3 separate regions of the Homo sapiens genome follow, and regions 1 and 2 are each linked to region 3. Evidence: promoter capture Hi-C in human tissues and cell types (Jung and others, 2019). All regions are on one chromosome and are shown on one strand. The core of a region is centred on a gene start or on the middle of the fragment in contact, and the rest is flanking DNA. Distances in the headings are between cores, read along the strand shown.

Region 1 (3,942 bases), core at 508-3,007, 120 kb after region 3:
TAGCTCCTGGTTCTTCTCTCTGTTACATTTAAGCAGCATGCTACTTATAGTTTCCCAGATTGACCCTGTTGTTTTATTTGTTAGTTGTAGTTGTACAAATTGTTTGTTCCACCTGGAATTCCTTCTTCTGAATCTTGGAACAAAAAGTATAGTATATTGGAGCTGGCAATACCAGCTCCCTACCAGCTAGGGAGTACTGCTTGTTAAATATTCAGGGATTTTGCAAGCCAGCTTGTAACTTAAAATCAGCCATGGGTGGAGGTATTTGCAGCGTGAACATCAGCAAATACTGCAAATCCAGATTTTCTCCACAACCACCCCCCACAAAAAAAGCTGGTTCCAGAACATCATTACCTCTATTGAACTAGAGTAACCTTTGCCTTAAATCCTGGTTTAAATGGTACCACTTTAAAGCCTTTCCTGCCCATTCATCTTCTCTCCACACACATAAAATTGATCACTACTTCCAAGCCCTTTGCATGCTTTATTATAGCATTTGTCGCTCTATAGCATAACTATGTTTACATGTCTCTTTTTAAACTAATCCCTGAGTTCCTGGGACAGAGTTCATATAATTATCTTTGTCTCTGTCATTCATTCACTTAACATTCATTGAACTGATACACACTGAACCAATATATTTAATATGTATCAGGCATTGTTCTCAGGGTACAAAAATGAAAGGATTTAGTCTGCAAGAAGCTCATAGTCCATGGGAAGAGAGAAATCCAAATAGTCCATTACAATACAGTGAGACAAGTACATTGCTAGAATGTATTGGAGCCTGGAGGAAAAAACCCTGCCTAGGGAAATGGGGAAGTCTTTCACAGAGCAGGTAAGACTTAAAGGATGAGCAGAAAGCTGTTGCCTGTAACAAAGTGCTACAGTCAGTACTTTTATAGATAGAAAAATTTTATAGACTTTTTCCCACTCTGGAGAACAGAATTATTCAAGGTTCTTTGTAACACAGTATATCAGCTTTACGTGGAAACTCTGTGTAAATGTCTTACACTCTTGGAATGCATGGAGAAAGTGCTCATTTTCTACTGTACTGTGGAGAATGTTTTCATTCTGAGTACTATCTATTATCCCAATAATGTTGTATAGTAAACCATCCCAAAACTCCATAGCTTAAAACAGTAACAATTTATTATTTCTCACAAATCTAAGGGCTTACTAGGCAGTTCTGCTCTGGCCAGGCTTAGCTGATTCCAGCTGGGCACACTCATCTGTCTACAATCAGATGGCAGGTCAGCCTGGGGCTGCCTGCTTTAGGAAGCCCTTGGCTAAGTCAGCTCAGATCTTCTCCATGTTTTCCCCTCCCTTTAGCAGACTAGCTCAGGCATGTTCACGTGGTGGTGGCAGGAGTCCAAGAGAGAAAGTGGAAACATGCAAGTGTAGTTCGGGCAACTGCTTACTCCAAGCTTGCTAGTGTCCACTAGGCCAAAGCAAGGCAAGTCACATGGCTAAGGCCAGAGTTACTGTACAATAAATAGATATAAGGAAATGTGAAAAATTGGGGCCATTACTGTAGTCAGTTCACCACAAGCACATACTCTGTGCTAGGCTGTCTTCTAGACCTTGTGTTTCTCTGCAGATGTTACTTGCCAGTGAATTTGCTTCCAGCTGGTTGGGTGCCCTGTGGTGATAATGAGCAAATTTTTCTGAGCAGTCTAGACCTATAAAGCTCATTTCTGTTTTGAGTGTTCATTTTTATTTGCATATCTGTTGAAATGACACATTATTTGGAAGGCTGAAGAAATTTAATAATCACTTGTTTAGTGATATTTCCAAGTCATGACATTAAACTCCTTACATATTCTAGTCATCTATACTTTTTGACATTCATGGTATCCACAAGGAAAAAACACCTTGTAGAGGTTTAAAAACATTTATGTTTTTAAAGAACAGTTATATTTAACCTCTCCTACTTAGCATTTCATAAGCTGGATTTCTTCTATGAAATGTGAAACTTTAAACTGGAAGAAATTTCAACCCATCTGTGAAAAGGAAACAGATTTTTATTTATTGAGGCCTTAGAAACAAAGTAGCCCCTTTACTTTTAAGTAATAGCATAGTTAAGTAGAAAGTACTGGGCATATAAAACATTAACATAACAGTTAATAAAATGTGCTCTTTTGGGTCTTTGTCCAAAAGTAACTAAATCATCCAAAATTCAAACCTGTAATTTTTTTTTACAAGATTCATATGATCAGTGTTTTGTTGTCATCATCTTTATCATTGATGAAAATGAGAGAGAGCTGGAGTAGTCAGTAGTAAAAGGGCAGTGGACAGAGAAAGGATTGAAACAAGTGGACAAATGGAGGAATGAACCATTTTTTTCAAATCCAAAAGCCAAATCAAATTGGACAGCCAGATATACGTAGCAAGCAAAGGGCAGAGCCAGGGCTAGAACCCGGACTGCCCTACCAGTGCTCTTCCATGACACTGCGTTGTGAGAATAGTCTGGTCTCACTGTATTGCAATGGACTATTTGGATTTCTCTCTTCTGAATGCACCCAAAGCAAGGTTGAATGTTTGTTCATAGATTAATCTATTTAACCAGTTTCCTATTTTAAAAATCAATAGAAAAGGGTCACTGAAGTGGCAGAAAATAAATTGCAGAGCGAACTTCTGGGCTAGAGGTTGGACCAGCAGAGTCTACTTCCCAGGTGCACCCAAAGGGTCTTCCCCACCAAAAGGAAAACCAGTGTGGCATGAAGGATCACATAGGGTTCCCTCAACTTTGATTTACTCTGTTTTTGTGCCAGGTTTGCCCACAGTTCATATGCTCCCAACAGTGGATCAAAGGGCTTGTACTACCTGGAATTCCCTCTTCCTGAATCCATCCTAACACACCCCCACCTAGTAATATATTGGAGCTGACATCTACCAGCTTGGGAGTACTAATTGTCAAATATTCAGGAATTTAATCGCGAGAGTAGGGCAGGGAACTAGTTATTGAGAGCAGCTACCAGAGGAAAGATTTTAGGATCAAAAATAATTTTTTTAGGATCAAAATATTTTTAAGGAAAATAATATTAACCTCAAGAAAATGGTGACCTTTTTTGGTTACAATTTAAGGAGCTGATTTTAAAAATAGGGGACTGGTTAAATAGATTACTCTGTGAACAAACATTCAACCTTGCATTGGCTGCATTGAGAAAAACAACCCAGACTATTCTCAGTGCAGTGTCATGGAAGAGCACTGGCAGGGCAGTCTGGGTTCCAGCCCTGGCTCTGCCCTTTGCTTGCTTATACATATCTGGCTCTCCAACTAGATAGTGACAGCTTTTGGATTTGAAGTTCTCTTGAGACCCTGTCAACTCCAGTATGCTGACATGTTCTTTGCATCTTTGAGGTTATGGTAGATCCTCACCTCAGCACCCCTATAGTTTTGACCTATTCTTGACTAACATGAGTAGGGGAGGGAGAGGGAGCAGTTATATGGGGGCACATTGGGTGTGGTATTGGTAAGCAGGTCAAAAGAGGCTCCATAGGAGTGAATACGAACCCTCAGTTACCTCCAAAAGTCAGAAAGTTACCTTTCAAAAGTCAGATGGCAGACTTTTGAAAGACTTAAAAATTGACTAGCTAAGACTTCAAGACAGGCTGACGTAAGAAATGAAGAAACTATTAAGTTAATCCTATAACTCATTATGTGTATGTCCTAAGCCCTCTCAGACTAATCAGCAGTATTAAAGTGGTAAAAAGATAGAGTTACATATAGTAAATTTAGGAGTCATTCATCAAAGAGGGAGATATGATCAGTCTATTAAATCATGATAGGTGTAACAGAATTTATTCATCAAATGCTGGTATACTGGAATGAAGGAACATTCTTTTGAACCTTAAAATGGGTAAAGAGGCAAGATGGTATTAACACTAAAGTGTTAGTGGTTAATGGTAATTTTCACATGATGCTGCCATGTGAAAATAGAA
Region 2 (3,517 bases), core at 617-3,116, 92 kb after region 3:
AATCACTATTTCACTGAGAAAATGAGGTGCTGTCAATTTCCCTGTTAATTTATCGGTGTCCTTGAATTCTTTACTCTTGTCTAGATTTTGTCCTACTACCAGGTGGTAACCTGGGTGAAGTTAGAGAGCATAACTTTTGTTCACTATTGTATCCCTATTCCTAAACACAGTGCCTCTTTTAAAACCCACATGCCCTTCCAGGAACCACCTCATTTCTCTATATTCTGTTTTACTTCCAACTGGATATAATGTAATTCAGTTCTGCCACCCAGAATCAGCATCTACCCCGCAAGTTAAAGGGCATGGTCCCCAACAAGATTGCCCTTAATCCAGACACTAGCTTTAGTTCAAGGGTCCCCAGGCCACCCACACTTTTGACCAACTGGCTATAAATCCACGGTTCCCATGACCCCCTCAGGTTCAATAATTTGCTAGACCAACTCACAGAACTCTGGGAAGCACTATACTTTAAATAATGGTTTTAATATAAGGGGTACAATTCAGGAGGACCAGTCAAATAAAGAGCCTCATAGGGTGAGATCTAGGAGGGAATGCAGAGCTTCTATGTCCTCTTATGGAATCAGGTGCATCATCTTCCCAGTACATCAATGTGTTCAACCAGGAAAGCTCCACTGAGCTTCTATGTCCAGAGTATTGATTGGGGTTTCATTACATAGGCATACTTGATTGAATTATTGGTCATATGGTTGAGATCAATCTGCAATCCCCCTTCAATCCCTGGAAGTTGGGAGATCAGGTTGATACCATGTGGCTAAAAGCCCCAGCTCTTTAAACACATGGCTGTTCTTTCTGGTGTTGCCAGCCTCCATCCTGAAACTATCTAGGTCAGGGGTGTCTAATCTTTTGGCTTCCCTGGGCCACACTGGAAGAATTGTCTTATGCCACATGTAAAATACACTAACACTAATGCAAAAAAAAAAAAATCTCGTAATGTTTTAAGAAAGTTTACCAACTTGTGTTGAACCACATTCAAAGCTGGGCCTGGGCCACATGCAGCCCATGGGCCACCGTTTGGGCAAGCTTGATAGGTGAGACCATGGGTCACCTTGTTAGCATAACAAAGACACTCCTATTACTCGGGAAATTCCGGTGATTTAGAGTCTCCCTCCCAGGAACCAGGGAGAAAGGCCAGTCAAATTATTTATTATACAGTGTTCTACAACTGCTCAAAAGTAGACTTCCTCAAAAGAATTGTCTGTATTTTCTTGAATTGTCTCTTGAACTCACTGCAGTCAGGCTTTTGCCCTTTATTTCACATTGATAACATTTATTTAAGGTCATCATCAATATCTTCCACATTGCCAAGTACTGTGATCAGTTTGAAATCCTTATTACTTGATAGCAGTATCTAACATGGTTAACATCTTCTTGAAACATTTTATTTGGCTTTTTGGACACCATTCTTTCTCTTAATTATCTTCCCATACATTGACCGTTCTCACCTGTCTCTGAAGGAGGGAATGCATTGCTCAGTTCTCAGATCTTGTCCTTCCCCAGATGCCATCATGGCTTTAAATATCATCTACATAGTGTGTCTCCCAAATTCCCATCTCCAGTTTGGAGTCTTCCCGAACTCATATATTCAACTCCCTACTCAGTATATTATTTTAGATATATAATAGGCATCTCAAAATTATATCTAAAACTGAATTTCTGATCATCTCTCTCTCTCTGAGATCTCCTCCCTTAGTCTTTTCCATTTCAGTTAATGGTATTTCTAGATATTTCTGTTTTCCCACTTTCTTGGACCAAAAACCTTACAGTCATTCTTAATTCTTTTTCTTCCATATTTCACTTCCAATCCATTAGCATATCCTGTCAGCTTTATATTCATAATATATCCAGATTCGGACTACTTAATACCATCTCCACTGCTGCCACCCTAGTTGAAGACACTACAGTCTCTTATCAAGACTACTTCAATAGCCTATTAGTGTTTCCTCCCTTACTCCTGTGTATTATATTTTTAACACAGGAACCAGAGTGGTCTTTTTAAAATGTTATTCTGATTATGACATGCTGCTCAAAACCCGTGGGTGGTTTTCCATCCTTCTCAGAGTAAAAGCCAAAGTTCTTACCATGGCCTATAGAGACCTGTATGATCTGGTCCCCCTCTCTGATCGCATTATGTCCTACTCTACCCTTCAGTCATTCTTTTCTAGCCACACTCTTTGCTCTTCTTTGAACACACCAGAAACTTTGCACTTGCTGTTTCTGCCTTTTGGAAAATTCATTGTGGCTCGTTCCCTTACTTTATGGTATCTGCTTGAGTGACACCTTTTCAGTGAAGCCTTCCTAGCCTGCCCTATAAAATACCCACTCACTTCCACACACACATCCTCCTTACTCTTTAACTTGTTTTATTATTGCCATAACATTTACCACCATTTCACATTCGTATTCTCTCTCTCTGTCTCCATATATATATATGTATGTGTATATATACATATATAGTTTAATATCTGCTCTTTAAGTTTCAAGAGAACAGACTTATGTTTTTTTGAATGAATGATCAGTGCCTAGTACTTAAGCTGCTCATAAAATTTTTTTAAGTTGATAAATATCTTGGAAGAAGAAGTATTCCCTGTTTCTTTCCAGGGATAGTGCCTTCTCATAAACACTTGGTTTTATCCCCTTTGGAGTCCTCTTGAGACTTGTTCTGTCAGAGGAACATTAGCTCTCTACTGCTCTTTTCTGTCTGTAAAGAAGGTCAAGTCTTTTCCACTCTGAAAAAGGGAGAAAAAATCTTGGAACCTTGCATCTTTGTATAATTACTACTTTGTTTCCTTCCCATCGTTGCTAGACTTCTTATGACTCTATTTTTGATGTCTGTACTTACTCACCTGTGGTTTACTCCTTAATATCATTCACTTCTACCAGTTCCACAGAAAGAACCTGTGAAGCTCACCAAGTGGCTAATTAGTAAACCCATTTCCTTTTTTCATTCTTCAGTCTAACTTGACTCTTGTGGTGCATGACACTACTCCTCCTGTGATGCCACTCTCACGGTTAACCTGCCTTTCTGACTATTCCATCTCAGTCTCTTTCCTTTCTTTCCATATCTCAGATGTTACTCTTCTTTAGAATCTGATGCTATGTTCTCTTCTCACTAGAAACTCTCCCTAGACAATATCATTCATTTCCATATACTCCTTTATGCTGATGAGTTCCAAATTTGGATCTTTAGGCTTGGCTTTACCTGCACTCCAGGCCTGAATTTCTGAGTTTACTGGAATTTCCATCAGGATATTCTATAGGAACCTCAGATTCACATGCTCAAAACAAAATTCACTATCTTTTTATCAGTTGACTTTTTATTATTGGTTTAAAAATAGCTCTAGTCCATATGGTAATTGTAAGGATTAGATAAGAAAATGCATACAACAAACTTAGTCAAATTCTGGGACATAGAAAGCACACACTAAATAGTAGCTATTATTATTACATGACAGTCTCCCCTATTAGACTGCAAGCTTCTTGAGGACAGGGACCATGT
Region 3 (3,419 bases), core at 900-3,399:
TGGACCTTTGCATAATAAAGGCTCTGAGAAGTCTTGGAACAAAGAAACCTATGAAAATTTAGCCCCATAGGCTAGGACACTGTGGCTCACGCTTGTAATCCCAGCACTTTGGGAGGCTGAGTCGGGCGGATCACTTGAGGCCAGCAGTTTGAGACCAGCCTGGCCAAAATGGTGAAACCCTGTCTTTACTAAAAATACAAGAATTAGCCGGGCATGGTGGTGTATGCCTGTAGTCCCAGCTACTCAGGAGGCTGAGGGATGAGGCTTGCTTAAACCTGGGAGGCAGAGGTTGCAGTGAGCCGAGACTGCACCACTGTACTCTCGTCTGGGTGACACAGCGAGACTCTGTCTCAAAAAAAAAAAAAAAAAAGAAATTAGACCCAAAGTCTTCAAACATGTGTAGCCACCATCTGTCTACTTCTATCTATATCTATCTACCATCATCTTTTTTCTAGAACATGATTTGGCATCTATCAGAATACAAGCTTTGCTGTTGTGAAATTCTGTAAGAACGTCAAATTTGAACTCATTACTCCTTGAATTTTATTTAATTTACTAGGTGGTGTTCAATGATCTGCAGTGCATCAGGAAAAAATAGCCTAAATTTTCTCATAGCTAAAAAGATATTCAGTCATCAAAATAGATTATTCACAACTAAAAGCTCCCTAAGTGAAGAACTTACCTTTTCTTAGCCATTCAGGCAAACTGAGTGTAATAAACTGAAGCCTCAGTAAAAGTTTCCACTCCCTCCTTATTTCTCTGATTTCCCTGGTGAATCCAGTAGGGCTGGTAAGTTGCTGTGAGAACATTCTCACGTCCCTGTTCTAACTCTAGAGCTGAGACACTCTAAGGGCCATGCGTCATGCTTTCATGGCTGCTGTCTCGTGTGGTTTTACCGTATGTTCAGAATGCCTTCATCACAGTTGATTATTTATTGAGTCTGGTGTCTGTTGAAGCTGTCAGACATAGGACTAAAACTCAGGAGATATCGTCTGAAAAGTTTAATATCTCCTGCAAATGGACTTAGAGTGAGAAACCATTATAGGTCACATGACTTGGCTTTTGAATGGCAGCTGATGTGATTGTGATTCCTTACTTCCATGTGGGTGACAATCACAGAGGACCCTTCCACCATCACTGAGTGAAGCCTTTTGGTCTCAGCAGTCTCCTCACAGCAGCCTTCACATCCTTGTTCCTCAGGCTATAGATGATGGGGTTGAGCATCGGGGTCACCACCCCATAGAAAAGGGGGATGAGTTTGTCTGAAAGATCCTCTTTGTCTGCTCCCATGGAGTCCTTAGACTTAGGCTTCCCATACATGAAGAATAAGGTCCCGTAGAAGACGATCACCACGGTGAGGTGGGCAGAGCAGGTGGAGAAGACCTTTTTCCTCCCCTCAGCTGAGGGGATCCTCAGGATGGTGGTGATGATGAAGACATAGGAGAAAGAGATGAACAGAACCGGGACTCCTAGGAAGATCACATTCGTCACCTCCATGCTGATCACATTGATGGAAATGTCAGCACAGGCCAACTTTAGAACAGCCAGAATCTCACAGGTGAAGTGGTTGATGACATTGTCTCCACAGAAGGGCAGCTGAATTGCCAAGGATGTGTGTACCACGGAAGCAGCACCACCAATAGCCCAGGAGCTGGCAGCCATGGGCATGTAGGCAGCCTTGCTCATGATCACGGAGTACCTAAGGGGGTTGCAGATGGCCACATAGCGATCAAATGCCATCATGCTCAGGAGCAAGCACTCTGTTCCTGCCATGGCAAAGGAGAGTGCCATCTGCACAGCACAGGCTGAGAAGGAGATGGTTTCCTGGGGAGTCAAAAAGCTGTCCAGGACCAGTGGGACTGAGGAGGTAGTGAAGCAGATGTCCAGGAAGGAGAGGTTCCCTAGGAAGAAGTACATGGGCGTGTGCAGGCGGGAGTCAAGGATGGTCACCAGGATGAGGACCCCATTGCCCAGCAGGATCACGAGGTACATCAGCAGGATGAGCACGAAGAATGTCTTTTCCAGCTCTGGGTGGGCAGAGAGCCTCAGGAGAACGAACCCCATCACAGGGGAGGTCTCATTGGCTTTTTCCATGTGATATCCCCTCTGCCATCAGCAAAGTACTGAGCAGCGCATCAGGCTTTTTGGGAAGAGTCCTAGGCATCTAATATGTGGTCAAGTTCCCATTGCATAATAGAAGAACATATCTGTGCAAGAGAAAAATGACGGAAAGAGACAGTAGGGGGTGTCTTAGAAGACAGAAGGTCAGAGCTGGACAGGTAGTGGGTGAGGGCCTCAAATGTCCGGTTGTGCATGAGGGATTTTTCTGAAGTTGCTGCACCCTCTCAGTGTCCACAAAGGTGATAGAGGCCTGGGGAGGAGAAGTGACCTGTCCAAATCTTCTGAGCAAGTTGGTGACAGAGACAAGACTTGAACCCAGCAGAGCATATCCCTGGCCCAAGGAGGGCTTTTCCTCTTCATTGTGATTAAGTGCTAGGAAATGCTATGAATTATTTCTCTTTAATGCAAATCCACAGCAATTTCATTTGATCTGGGCTTTCTTAGATTCTCAGAGAGGAAAATTCCCAAGAAGATGCAATTCTTGGACCTAGCAAGTGATTAAGTTTCTTTAAACTTTGATTACACGTGGGGAGGAAATTGCGCAAAATTGTTCAACCATATTCACACAGAAACAAGCCTAGTTAATATTCAGCCATAAAGAGCATTACTTCTTCAGTCTAGTGACACAGGCTTGAGCATTGACAGGAATAGATCTGCCTATTTGAAATATGGATTTATTGCAATATATGGGGAGGTCCTATAGCTGGGAAATTTATGAAGCCAACAAATGGATTTGTTGGAGTGACTGAACTCACACCATGAGACAACACTGTGTAGCTTACCAGTTAGTTAATGCAATATTAATAACCACACTCTAACTATAGTTATCGATAGTAGAGTATATGGCATTAACTTCTGATCCCATCTCATTAGGATGTCTGTGAAATTCCTAACCGTGAATGACTAAGAATGTTTTTTCTTTGTCCTTTTATGTTTGCATTTTATTCTTGCATTATCTTCTGACTCTCTGACTCCATTCTTGAGTTCTATGCAAGCAGCTGGCTTATAGGAAGACTTATATGCCTTTGTATAGAGGATATCTAGTCTCTTACTTGCAATTTCCCTGACTCTAAATTCAAAGTACTCATAGATAATATTTTGATAGCTCCTTCTTAATGACAGTGGCTCTATGAGTGTGTATAAGAGTGGGTGGATGATGGAAGATGAGTGGTTAATATTAATATTAGTGAGAATATTAGGGATTCTCACTAATATTAAGGAATATAAGCTGTGCCATATTTCTTGAAACAGCTCATGGAGAAGATATTATCATTCAGGTTTTACAGGTGAAGTAACTG

Evidence for each region. The method cuts DNA at HindIII sites, captures the fragments that hold promoters and counts their contacts. A contact is called where the count stands out against the background at its distance.
Region 1: a fragment that was not itself captured here is called in contact with the fragment with the promoter of OR2S2 in region 3 in 4 of the 25 tissues and cell types used here (IMR-90 fibroblasts, dorsolateral prefrontal cortex, lymphoblastoid cells and 1 more).
Region 2: a fragment that was not itself captured here is called in contact with the fragment with the promoter of OR2S2 in region 3 in 4 of the 25 tissues and cell types used here (lymphoblastoid cells, mesenchymal stem cells, spleen and 1 more).

Annotation. Positions count from the first base shown.
Region 1 is chr9:36,073,715-36,077,656 of GRCh38, forward strand. The region is part of intron 6 of RECK (reversion inducing cysteine rich protein with kazal motifs); the gene reads left to right. Among named protein-coding and RNA genes, the nearest start is that of RECK, 39 kb to the left of the region's middle. The HindIII fragment of the contact is 8,058 bases long and covers 1-3,942 here.
Region 2 is chr9:36,048,569-36,052,085 of GRCh38, forward strand. The region is part of intron 1 of RECK (reversion inducing cysteine rich protein with kazal motifs); the gene reads left to right. Among named protein-coding and RNA genes, the nearest start is that of RECK, 13 kb to the left of the region's middle. The HindIII fragment of the contact is 4,812 bases long and covers 1-3,517 here.
Region 3 is chr9:35,956,005-35,959,423 of GRCh38, forward strand. OR2S2 (olfactory receptor family 2 subfamily S member 2) reads right to left here and starts at 2,150. Exons shown (of 1, transcript NM_019897.2): 1 at 1,104-2,150. The coding sequence starts at 2,094. The coding sequence ends at 1,135. The HindIII fragment of the contact is 4,346 bases long and covers 205-3,419 here.